Regions from separate parts of the Homo sapiens genome. Here all the other regions are linked to region 3. Evidence: promoter capture Hi-C in 16 types of primary human blood cells and fetal thymus (Javierre and others, 2016). All regions are on one chromosome and are shown on one strand. Each heading gives the region's core, a stretch centred on a gene start or on the middle of the fragment in contact. The rest is flanking DNA. Distances are from core to core; before and after follow the strand shown. Region 1 has its middle 19 kb from the start of TSPYL1. Region 2 has its middle 38 kb from the start of TSPYL1. Region 3 holds the start of CALHM6 (calcium homeostasis modulator family member 6). Region 4 overlaps RWDD1 (RWD domain containing 1).

Region 1 (2,702 bases), core at 51-2,550, 160 kb after region 3:
GGGTGAAAGAAAGGGGGGAAGGACAATAGTTCTTTGACACTAGCACTGGTAACTTAGCAAAAGGCCAAAAATGTCCCCATTAGACTTGATTGCCTGAGGCAGAAGTCAGGAAAATAATTATGCCAAGTAGATCTTGAGCAGAAGGAGAAAGATAATATATGTCATGAAGCACATCAAGCCATTACCAAATATTATGCATAGTCCCTGTGAATTCTAAAAATTCCCAGCTCTTCAATACTGTGGAATTTTATCAACAAGCAGGATAAAATGATATATTCAGAAATTTAAGGAACTTGTGCATTTGAAGCGAGGCTTTTCTTCTTTCATTTTTGCATTTGTATGAAAATAATACTCAAATATGGAAGGAAATGAGTATTGTACTCATCAGAACTATTTAGTATTCCAAGAAATAGTAACAATCACCTAAAATGTACTATTTGAAACTTACTATTCGGACATGACTCTGTTAGTTCCTATTATTCCTCTAATTGTAACTTTGGGTTCTAAAGTACTATGGCAAACTCTGGAAGTACAAATTCAGTAGGTTGGGGCAAAAATAAAATCTCTTTCTGGAATATGTGAAGGTCTGTCTTTTCTTTATTCTCTTACTACTATATACATCTTCCTAAGAAAAGTTGACAGTTTTTCTGGACTGAGATTTATGAATAACTGCCAAATTTAAAAACGGTTTGAATAAAAGCAAATAATTGGCAGACCAACAGTTTATTAAAATTCCACAACTATATTTCCATCTAATGTTGCATGTTATCCTTGCCCACAGCCAGTCACTGCCAAAACACCAGCAATCTCAGAAAATAGTAAAATGTGTTAGGTAACATTCTTTTGGACCATATTGATTTTACTTTCTCAGTTTCAATTCACAGTACACTGTAGAATTAACCATTTCAACATTAATAACTGTTAAAGATGTGCCCTAAAAAGTTATCTTGGCCTCTTAGGTGACAAAATAAAAAGTTGTGAATAGTATTGTTCAAACTTTAGAGATTCTATGTGGTACAAGTTGAGTGCAGAGGAATGTCCATCATCTATCTCTATCTCTTTATCTATACCTATACCTACCTACCTACATACATACATATACACACACATATACATACATATATATGTATGTGTGTGTGTGTGTGTATGTGTATATATATATATATATATATATATATATATATATATATATATATATAAAAATAATTCAAGAAGCCTTTCAGGATGAGAATTTATTTACATTTCTAGTTCACCATACCTTTGGGGCACTTTCTTCCCTTATAGCTTTCTAAACTCATAATTAATTATAGATAACTTCTAATTGGCTCAAATTATTCTTAAAACCATTAAACAGAGAAAGTGCTCATTGTTCTTCAACATTCAGTCCTCTCTTTTTTCCCAAAATTTTAGGTAAGCACAAAACTACATTAACTAGAGACAAATTTCCCTCTGTTTCTCTTGCAAACCAAGTTTTGCCAGTGGCATGAGAGTGGACACAACTGTGCAATTTCTAGGTCACATCAGAAAACTGCTTGCTTTCACTTCCTCTTTTCCCATACTTATTACTTAATAATATTTAATGTACATTGGCTACTTTATGCAAATTGATAACATCCTGAGAATAGAAAAGTTAGTAAAAATTGTTTTCATGTTCAACTTGTTTCTAAACTAAGAGAGTTAAGTAAAATCACAAATAGCTAGAAACAAGGTAAAACAAGTATCATCATAGATATGCACACAATGCCTACGGGTTCAAAAGAACAAGATAATGTATCTAGCCTGAGGTATCCAAAACGATTTTTTATTTAGGAGTTAATTATTAAGAATTGTGTTAATGAATGGCTAGTGTAGAAGAGGATGGCTCCGTTTTCCATGTCCCACCTATCAGAATGCAGAAAAGTCAAAGGCTTTGTGTGAGTTTCAACACTGGAGCTGAGTTAGCTAACAGTATTACATGAACACTATATGTCAGATAATGTGTTTAATGCTTTATATGTTGAGTTTTCTATAGCTGCTGTAAAACATTATCACACACGTAGTGACTTTAAAGGGCACAAATTTATTATCTTACAGTTCTGGAAATGAGAAGTCTAAAATGTGTTTCATGGGGTTAAACTGAAGGTATCAGAAGGGCTACATTTCTTTCTGGAACCTCTAGAGGGTAATCCATTTCCTTGACCTTTCTAGCTTCTAGATGCTGCCCACATGCCTTGGCTAGTGGCCCCGTCCTCTGTCTTCAAAACTAACAATGGCTGGTTGAGTTCTTCACACACTGTGTCACTCTGATCTCTTCTGCCTCCCTTTTTTACTTTAAAGAACACTTGTGATTACATTGGGCTCACTTGACTAATCTAGGACAATATCCCTATCTCAAGGTCAGCTGATGAGAAACCGTAATTCCACCTGCAACCTTAATTCCCCCTTGCTATGTAACAGCATATTCACAGGTTATGAAGACTAGAACATGGACATCTTTCCTGGGGGGAGGGCATTATTCTGCCTACCACATGTGGATAGCCTCATTTAATCTTCACAACAGATTTATAGATTTGGTACTGGCATTAACTCTACAGATAAGCAATGAGGACACAGAAATGTTAATCAATTTGACTATAATCACCAAGTCAATAAATGACAATTCAGGAATTAAAACTCAAATATTTCTTACCCCAGGGCCTAAACTCTGACAGGGTGTCCAACAA
Region 2 (2,700 bases), core at 59-2,558, 140 kb after region 3:
TAAACATGTTAATACATATTTACTAGGTACACAGTTTTCTTAGACATTTCTGCTATGTGCTTTGTAGGATACGTTAGCATTATTATTGTTATTAATAAGCAAGTAGAAAAGAAGCTGATTTAATTCACTTTACTCTTTGGGTATTTCCTTCCAAAAAATATTTTTAAATTTCTCATTTTCTATTTACTTTTAACCCTTCATTTCTAAATTAGCCAGGTAATTTGATGCTGAAATTTAATTTCCTTCATTTTTAAAAAGACACGTATAGCTGAGAAACACAAACTGGAGCTTTGATATCAGTCAGATAGTTGTAAAGTTGCTAGTTTTGCCACTTACTAGTTGAGAGCCATGGGGCAAGTTAGTTTTAGTTTTGCTTTTTCAGTCTTCTTCTCTTTCTTTTTTTTTTTTCTTTTGAGATGGAATCTCACTCTGTTGCCCAGCCTGGAGCGCAGTGGTGCATCTCGGCTCACTGCAAGCTTGGCCCGGGTTCATGCCATTCTCCTGCCTCAGCCTCCCAAGTAGCTGGGACTACAGGCACCCACCACTATGCCTGGTTAATTTTTTGTATTTTTAGTAGAGACGGGGTTTCACTGTGTTAGCCAGGATGGTCTCGATCTCTTGACCTTGTGATCTGCCTGCCTTGGCCTCCCAAAGTGTTGGGATTACAGGGGTGAGCCACCACGACTGGCCCCTACTTTTCAAATGTGCATAATGACACCTAGCCCATTGGCTTGTTGTGAAGCATAATAATTATAATGCTACAAGAAATGAAATCATGAATGTCGAATGCCTCAGCATGTCATACAGCAAGTGCTCAATATATATTTGTCCACTCCTTGTTCGATCATAGAAAAACACTGAATAAAACTTGCTTTGATTAGGATAAAATGCTATTTTTATACTATTTGAGGTTTAAAAAACCCTCAAGTAGTTGTTCTGATTGTGTATAATTTCCAAGGAAATAATAAAGAACCAAACTGACCAATAATAGTAAATGACAATTATTCTTGTTTTCCTGATATCTGCTACCAGTTTCTACCACCTCTGAGCTTTGAGTGAACAACTATTATTTCAAGAGGTAGAAATAAAAAAGGACTTGTTCTGAGGTGAAAGCCCAAGTGACAAATTCACAACACTCATAAGCACAGAGTACATAAACCCAAACAATTGCACACTTTGTTTAGATACGGCAATACAATTCCTTTCATGGTCTATAATAACCAGTTGAATAAGTTTATGTTTCTCAATACTATGTGTATGTGTGTATTTGTATGTACATATACATGATACAAACAACACACACACCCCTTTTGTTTAGCATTAAACTTTTCGTAGAAGATTTAGAGACTAGCAGCATGGATTTTATGTTTTTAAATTACTAAGCATCCTTACTAAAAATTATCCACATGGGTTAGAGAGTTCAGCACAAGACTGATAATAACCAGGTTAAAGAATGTGTAAAGAGAAATTATTCTGGAAAGGACACATCTTGGACACATATCCAAGAGTAACTTCCCGGAATCTCTAGAACATCATGTCTAAATATGAGAATATTGGCCATAACAATATGCCTCCTAGATTTTGACTGCAGGGGGCAGAATTGGCTGAAAGCCCCAGCTGCTCTGTTCTGAAATCCACTGAGGTCCACATTCTCCCACAGGCTGCTCCCGGCCAATGACTGTACAACAGAAATACAAAGGCAGGCCCAATCCCATGAGATGAGTGACTCCTCTAATAGTTGGCTTTGGCTTGAGGATTCCCCAACAGCCTTGCTAAGTTTTCATGGAACTGAACAGCAGTCTGAAATGCTTACACCATTCTTCCCCTTCTCTTTCTATCTTTTCCTCAGGGTCAGACTTGCATTAAGGGCTCTTCCAGCCTCTCTGGGATCCCTTCACATTTTTTTTCTCACAGGAATTTACCCTACTAAATTTCTTGCACATTTAATGCTGAATCAGCATCTGCTTCTTGGATAATCCAGGCTAACATAAGCTCACAAAATTTCTAGTAGTAAATGAGCTAAGGTACCTGCACAGCACATTAAAAGTAGTAGTAGTAGCAGTAATAATAATAATAATAATAATAATAGTAGTAGTAGTAGTAGTAGAAGAAGAAATAAGCAAAAAGAAGAAGAAGCTTAATCAATTTCCAAGGCATTTGTTAAATATCTTCCTTTCTGTAATTAGTTTCAGGATAAGGAAGTCATCTACAGCACAACCAAATACCAATCTTTCTGGACTAGCTGTCATTTCAGGTCATTCCGCACCAAGTCCCATTATTGTCCTAGTAAAGGTTATTTCATGAGTTGAGGGGATAACGCTTTGACAAAATTATTTAAATCTTATTCATCTAGTATAATGTGGTTCATTAATTGAAAACTGGAACTAGCTCCCAAGGTCCAGTCCCAGGGTAGGTTTAGACTATCCACTTGTTAAATACCAATGTCTGAAAGGGAAGTATAGTCTTGAAATTATACTGTGGTTAAACAACTGATTTTAAATCATATAGATTATTATGAGTTTACTGCCAGTCTATAGTAAGGTCTGTAGATATCAGTCACAGGCCAGTCCTACTTAACATTTAGAATCAGCTGGAAAATCATTATAGAAAGATCCATGAACTCAACCATAAACCCAACCATGAATCAATGTCAGAAGGAAGCTCTGCTCCTACTATCTTCCATCTGCCCCTTTAAACAAA
Region 3 (2,748 bases), core at 1-2,500:
TTTTATTCAGATATTCTCTTGACGGCAAATTAGATGCAAGGAGCCATTCTAGATTTTCTTAGGGTACTGTATATCTGGAGAAAAGTCACCGATTTTTCCCTCACCCCAGCGGCCCTGAGAAAGCTCGGCCTCTCGGCTCCTCCCAAACGCCCCCAGCGCCAGCGGCAGACCTGCGACTGAGCCTTCAGATCCTTCAGGAGGTCCTGCACGTCCGACGCCTTGGCCTGGTTGCACGGCACCAGCGGCAGCTCCGCGGCGCAGCTGCGGTTGCGGCCGAGGCACAGGCGCTGCGCGAAGGCCGCGCTCCCGGTGGCCGCGCACTCGTAAAAGGCGCCCCCGAGCAGCGCCACGGCCACCCAGGTGAGGGGCGCGAGCGCGGCGGCCGCGCTGATTTGCGTGCACACCAGGGAGCCGCGCAGCGCCGATCCGCAACTCGCGCGGGCGCTGGAGCAGCATCCGGTGAGCAGGCGCCACGTGCGTGCGCTCAGCACGTAGCCCAGGAGGAAGAGCGCGAGCGCCGGCACCAGCAAGAAGACCAGGCCGTAGGGCAGGTTCCAGGCGGCGCTGCACGGGCACTGGAATGCCACGGCGGAGAAGATGCGCTCCCCGCCCGCCGTCAGCAGGGTCACCAGGCCGTAGCCCAAGGCGCTGTGGTGCTTGACGTGCAGGTCCAGCACCGCCCGAAACTTCTCCATGAGCCTCGTCCCCCGGGGCGTCGCGCACAGGCCCAGATCCTTCTGCCTCTTCGTTGTCCTGCTTGTCAAATGGTTTTGGTGGGATGGGGACCGGGGCTTTCCACTCTGCGAGAAGCAGCCTTTTTTTTTTTTTTTTTAAAGGGAAGAGGGCTTCTCAGACCTTCCTAAAGTTTCACTTTCTCATTTCAGCCACACCACCTCTGGTTAACAGAACCAGGCAAGCAAACACCCCCAGGACCTTGACTTCTCTGGCACCCACCCCATTCCAAAGGCAGAGGCACCAGTTATCTTCCTCCCCCAATTCAGGAACTCTGACAGAAGGTTGACCTTGTTCCTTTATTACCACCAATCTGACAACGAACCAGGAAACTAACCTTCTTGACCCACGGCCGCCAGTTGGAAAAACTGGGAAATACCAGATTTTCCTCTATTGCAGCCACCCTAGTTACTAAGCCAGATCACAGTAAAACCAAATAATTATCAAAAAACTGATTACTTACGGGAAACATTATTCAAGGACAAATTTCTGGTTCCTCTTCCATAAGCTAAATCAGCAAAGTCCAGCTCAAGTTCTGGTACTTCTATGATGGGCGGCACCCTTTCCATCTCCCTACCGGACAGAGCCACCAGCCTAGTTCACACTGACTCTTCTCTCCTCTGCCTGATCTCCTTCAGGACATTAGACCAAATATACTGTATTGATTTACTCGTCAATACAATGTTCTTTTCTTTCAGATATGTCATAACACTGTCAATGCCTGGAGGAGAGTAAAATTCTGACTCTGACCACCAAGCTGATCTGCACAGAAGGGGATACATGATTATTCAAAGAATGCTAGTTGAACCCAAAATTTCAAACTGCAGCTACATCTATCTAATGTTGTTTCCTCCACCTTCAGTTTTCTCAAGCAGCGTTGTTCTGACACAAACACTGTAACCACTTTTGTGATATTGAGCCTTACTCTGTGTGACTCCAGACTGAGCTGAGGTGTGCTTGAAAGAACATGGGCTTTGAAGTCAAGTGCATCTTGTCTGTGGTGTGTTTAACAAGTATGCCCCTCTGAGACACAGCATCCTTATTTGTAAAAGAAGGATAATAGTGCCCACTTTTCAAGATTACTGACATGAGTAGATTGAGTAGCATATGTAAAGTGCCTTTACATATAGGATATGTCTGTTAAATGAATGATCAGTGTGAGAGTTTTCCCCTTAAAATGCAATTTGGGGAATAGACAACAAATAATTACATTGTACATAACCTAAGAATCTTGATGAATACTGAATTTTGAATTTTAAACGAGGATCAATTCAGTGGATAGTATTAAGTGACTCAATGACTCTGCTACCTTAAGAGAATTGGTGTACACCTTAGCTGTCTGCTTCACCACAAGGAGAGTATCTGGATATGGAGCTTGGGTGGGCAGTTCACAATGAAATGGTTCTTATTGGTGCCCATCCACCAGGCTTGCCTTATTTTATCTGGAAAGAATAGGTAGCCCATGGAACCAAGTGAATTTTTAGAGAATGGACAAGAAATGTATTATTCTTTTCTTAGTCCAACTTGCCTTCTTAACTACTCCCTCTCCAACACCACCAGCAGGGTGCCTAGCGTAGTGCCAAAAGCTGTCATTCCATAGTGATGTGGTAAATAGACATCTTTTTTCTATGTGTTTAGGGGCCAGCCCCAGATGAGGGTCTTCATGGTCATGCAGGAAAGTTGGGGCCCTCTTCTCTGAGATTAGACCAGATACTGCTAGGCTTCCTGTCAACTTGCAGCAAAGTTGCGTGTTTGAAGCGAATCACTTCTGCTCTGACTGTTATCTTTGTAATTTGTCATCTCCCAAGATAAATTTCTTCCCCTGTGCCTTGAGTAACTCTCCTCTTACTGCTGGACTCTTCTTCACCTCTACCATAATACTCTAAGATGTGTCCTCTCTCGTCCACCCTTTCCCATATTCCATCATGCAGAAACATCACTATATCCACAACCTTTGTGCAGATGGCTTTATCCAAATCTCCCCTAACCGAAACCTAATAAAAATGCATCCTTCTG
Region 4 (2,931 bases), core at 355-2,854, 140 kb before region 3:
GTTTTTTTCTCTTTAAATATTAATGCCATTTGGGAAGCATCTAATCAAAATAAACCATTTCTGAGTCTTTGAGCTCAGTATTCTATATTTTAAATCTGGTGCAAATTACAGGAATATAAGATTATGACTGTCTTTTTACCTTTTGAGTTAAGACCAACTAACATATCTGAGTTACCATATCTTTGGCAGTTTCAATGTCCTCTATATAACCTGTCCTCAACATTCTAACCTCATAACTTATTAATATCATTAAATAACTATTATTTTTGCCCCACTTCAGCCATCTCCTACCTCAAAGAACCACTCTTGAATTGTCATTATCTGAAAGAACTTCTCAGAAACCTAAGTCTCCCAGAATTCAAATTTTCTCTTTTCCTTATTTTCCATTAGGAATAATCTTTGATTTTAAAGAGATATGTAGCTTCCATTTCTCCCCACATAAATGCTTCCTTTGACTTATTTTTTCATCCAGCTTAAATCCCAAGATACAACAGTTTAAATATGTTCCCATGCATCTTCAACTTGATTTCATTTATTCATCCAATAAATTACTACATGAATAATTATTTCAGATTTCAATGATTATTTCATCCAATAATTATTTAGTATAGATTATCTACAAAGCAGTAAATATAAAGTCAAATAAAACACAGCTCCTGCCCTCCAACTGGTCATTTCAAGCACTTCTTTTGAGAAGACTCATTGGGCCATCCCAATCCCAGGTTAACTTAGATGTCCCTCCTTTGTGACCCTGGAGCATCCTGTAAGTTTTCATTCAATACTGTATTTATGTGCCCGGAAATATGAGAATACCTCAAGAAGACAGACTACATCTCTTGTCTCTTATCATCCCACTGGCTAGCATGTGCGCATAAGGTTTGGCTGAAAACAATTTGACTAAATGCAATTTGACCAAATGCATAAAGCAATCTGGCTAATAGGTAAATTTTAGGCAGAATGGTATTGTAAATAAATATTTGTTACTGGTTTTAAAATCTGTAAAATACTGGTATACTGGGGATAGAGTGTGTGTATGGCAATTTCCCAAAGCTTCGTGTATCTTTAAGTATTTTTATGCATATTTATATTTCTAAATTGGCAGAGGGACGCTCCTTTTGTCACATTTTCGTTTATCCCAACCTATATATCTGACAAATTGTCTATTTTAAAAATTACAGCGGCCAGGTGTGGTGGCTTATGCCTGTAATCCCTAGCACTTTGGGAGGCTGAGGCATGTGGATTGCTTGAGCTCAGGAGTTCAAGACCACCCTGAGCAATATGGCGAAACCTCACCTCTACAAAAAATACAAACAAGAATAATAATAATAATAATTAGCCAGGTGTGGTGGCGCATGCCTGTAGTCCCAGCTAATTTGGGGGCTAAGGTGGGAGGATGGCTTGAGCACAGGAGGTCAAGGCTGCAGTGAGCTGAGATCACGCTACTGCATTCCAGCCTGGGTGACAAAATGAGACCCTATCTCAAAAAAATAAAATAAAAGTTACAGTACGTTACAAAACAGTAGTACAAAAGGACTTATTCATGTATACACTCAACAAGTATTTACAGACTGCCTGCTCTCTGCTAGGCATTATTCTCATAGTAACAATAAACTGGGGAACAGACAGACAAGGTCCATCATCACGTGTACATTCTGGTGGATCCCACTTTTGAACAGAAATGACTAGAAAAGCCTCTGACTAGAAACTTATGCAACCAGATACCAATATCATACATCTTTAAGTTGAAGGATTTATACGTTTTCTAATGTACTTTTCCATTTTGATTTTCCTACATAAATGGGCACTGTCAAACAATAAGAAATAGGAAATAAATAGGAAACTGGCCATACTCAAACAACAAAAATGCTATTAAAAATCTGAGATTTAGGATTGTTGAAAGGTTTCTCTTTTAAATAAACCCAAATCAATTTTCAGTTCCATCCTTCTACTCAAAGGTGTATTTGAAGAACTGATATATTATCTTATAATAATAAAAGCAGGAATATCAGTGATCTGGCAATTTTATTGGTGTTTTTAAGGTATAGTTATAATAAGAAAAATTTTAATTTATAAATGACATTGATAAAATAGCAGGTGAATAATTTTTCAATAATATATGTGCTAGGAAGGGGTTAGTTTCCATAGAATATAAGCTTGATATATAATTGAAATGACCTTTGCTCCCATCCGACTTCCTTGGACTTCCACAATATGGCTCCAACATGACTTTCTAGTCCTATTTTCTGGTAGGCACCTAACAACTATTGTTCTCCAGGAAATCTGACTGAAAGAATTATAAATATAATTTAAATATATGTATATTATATATATATAATATAATATAAACAAATAAAACTAATTTGTCGAAAGCAATTTGGAAATTGGCCTAAAGCTACTGAGAGAACGGTGGCAAATATGACTTTGATTGAAATGCCAAGTTCATCAAAACTGTAATTTCCCAATCACTAATTTTGTTGTTGTGAAGTTTATTTTAGTATTGGTATAAGAGTGTATCATGAGGTAGCTTTGCAACCCTTAGTCTTTGGCAAATATTTTATTTTTACCTGTTTTTTTAAAAAAATTTAAACTTAAAACACCTTTTATGTTTCCAATTTATTTGCAGCCAATAATCCCATGATGCATTGTTCATTATGTAAAAATTGAAAACAATCTAAATATTCAACAGTAAAGGATTTTCAGAGCTAAATACCCTTCATCTTTATGCAGGGAGATGAAGAAGTCAAGAAAACTAATGGAGACTACTCTTTAAAGGAGAACAGCTGCAAAGGCAGAGATAGGCAATAGCTATAAGAGGAAGGTCTAGGAAGTATTTTTTATGATAAGTAAATATGTAGTAGAAATAGCCAAAAGGTGGAAGAACAAAACTAAATATAACAATTATTTAAAAATTCATCATGTTAATTATGTAAG

The links. Contacts are between HindIII fragments. The CHiCAGO score rates a contact against its expected background, and 5 or more counts as called.
Region 1: a fragment that was not itself captured here is called in contact with the fragment with the promoter of CALHM6 in region 3 in 9 of 17 cell types (naive B cells, total B cells, neutrophils and 6 more); the score reaches 19.7 in naive B cells.
Region 2: a contact is called between a fragment that was not itself captured here and the fragment with the promoter of CALHM6 in region 3, in 6 of 17 cell types (monocytes, total B cells, naive B cells and 3 more). The highest score is 13.4, in monocytes.
Region 4: a fragment that was not itself captured here is called in contact with the fragment with the promoter of CALHM6 in region 3 in 2 of 17 cell types (total B cells and naive B cells); the score reaches 5.5 in total B cells.

What each region holds. Positions count from the first base shown.
Region 1 is chr6:116,298,002-116,300,703 of GRCh38, reverse strand. It overlaps a transcript of DSE not described here. Among named protein-coding and RNA genes, the nearest start is that of TSPYL1, 19 kb to the right of the region's middle. The HindIII fragment of the contact is 9,643 bases long and covers 1-2,702 here.
Region 2 is chr6:116,316,215-116,318,914 of GRCh38, reverse strand. It overlaps a transcript of DSE not described here. Among named protein-coding and RNA genes, the nearest start is that of TSPYL1, 38 kb to the right of the region's middle. The HindIII fragment of the contact is 1,660 bases long and covers 479-2,138 here.
Region 3 is chr6:116,459,877-116,462,624 of GRCh38, reverse strand. CALHM6 (calcium homeostasis modulator family member 6) reads right to left here and starts at 1,250. Exons shown (of 3, transcript NM_001010919.3): 1 at 1,196-1,250; 2 at 171-753. The coding sequence starts at 695. It overlaps CALHM6-AS1 (CALHM6 antisense RNA 1), which reads left to right. Exons shown (of 2, transcript NR_174951.1): 2 at 1,431-2,147. RefSeq lists a silencer at 185-264 and enhancers at 645-724, 735-844. The HindIII fragment of the contact is 9,761 bases long and covers 1-2,748 here.
Region 4 is chr6:116,597,280-116,600,210 of GRCh38, reverse strand. It overlaps RWDD1 (RWD domain containing 1), which reads right to left. Exons shown (of 7, transcript NM_015952.4): 7 at 2,536-2,931. Among named protein-coding and RNA genes, the nearest start is that of RSPH4A, 18 kb to the left of the region's middle. The HindIII fragment of the contact is 1,103 bases long and covers 1,053-2,155 here.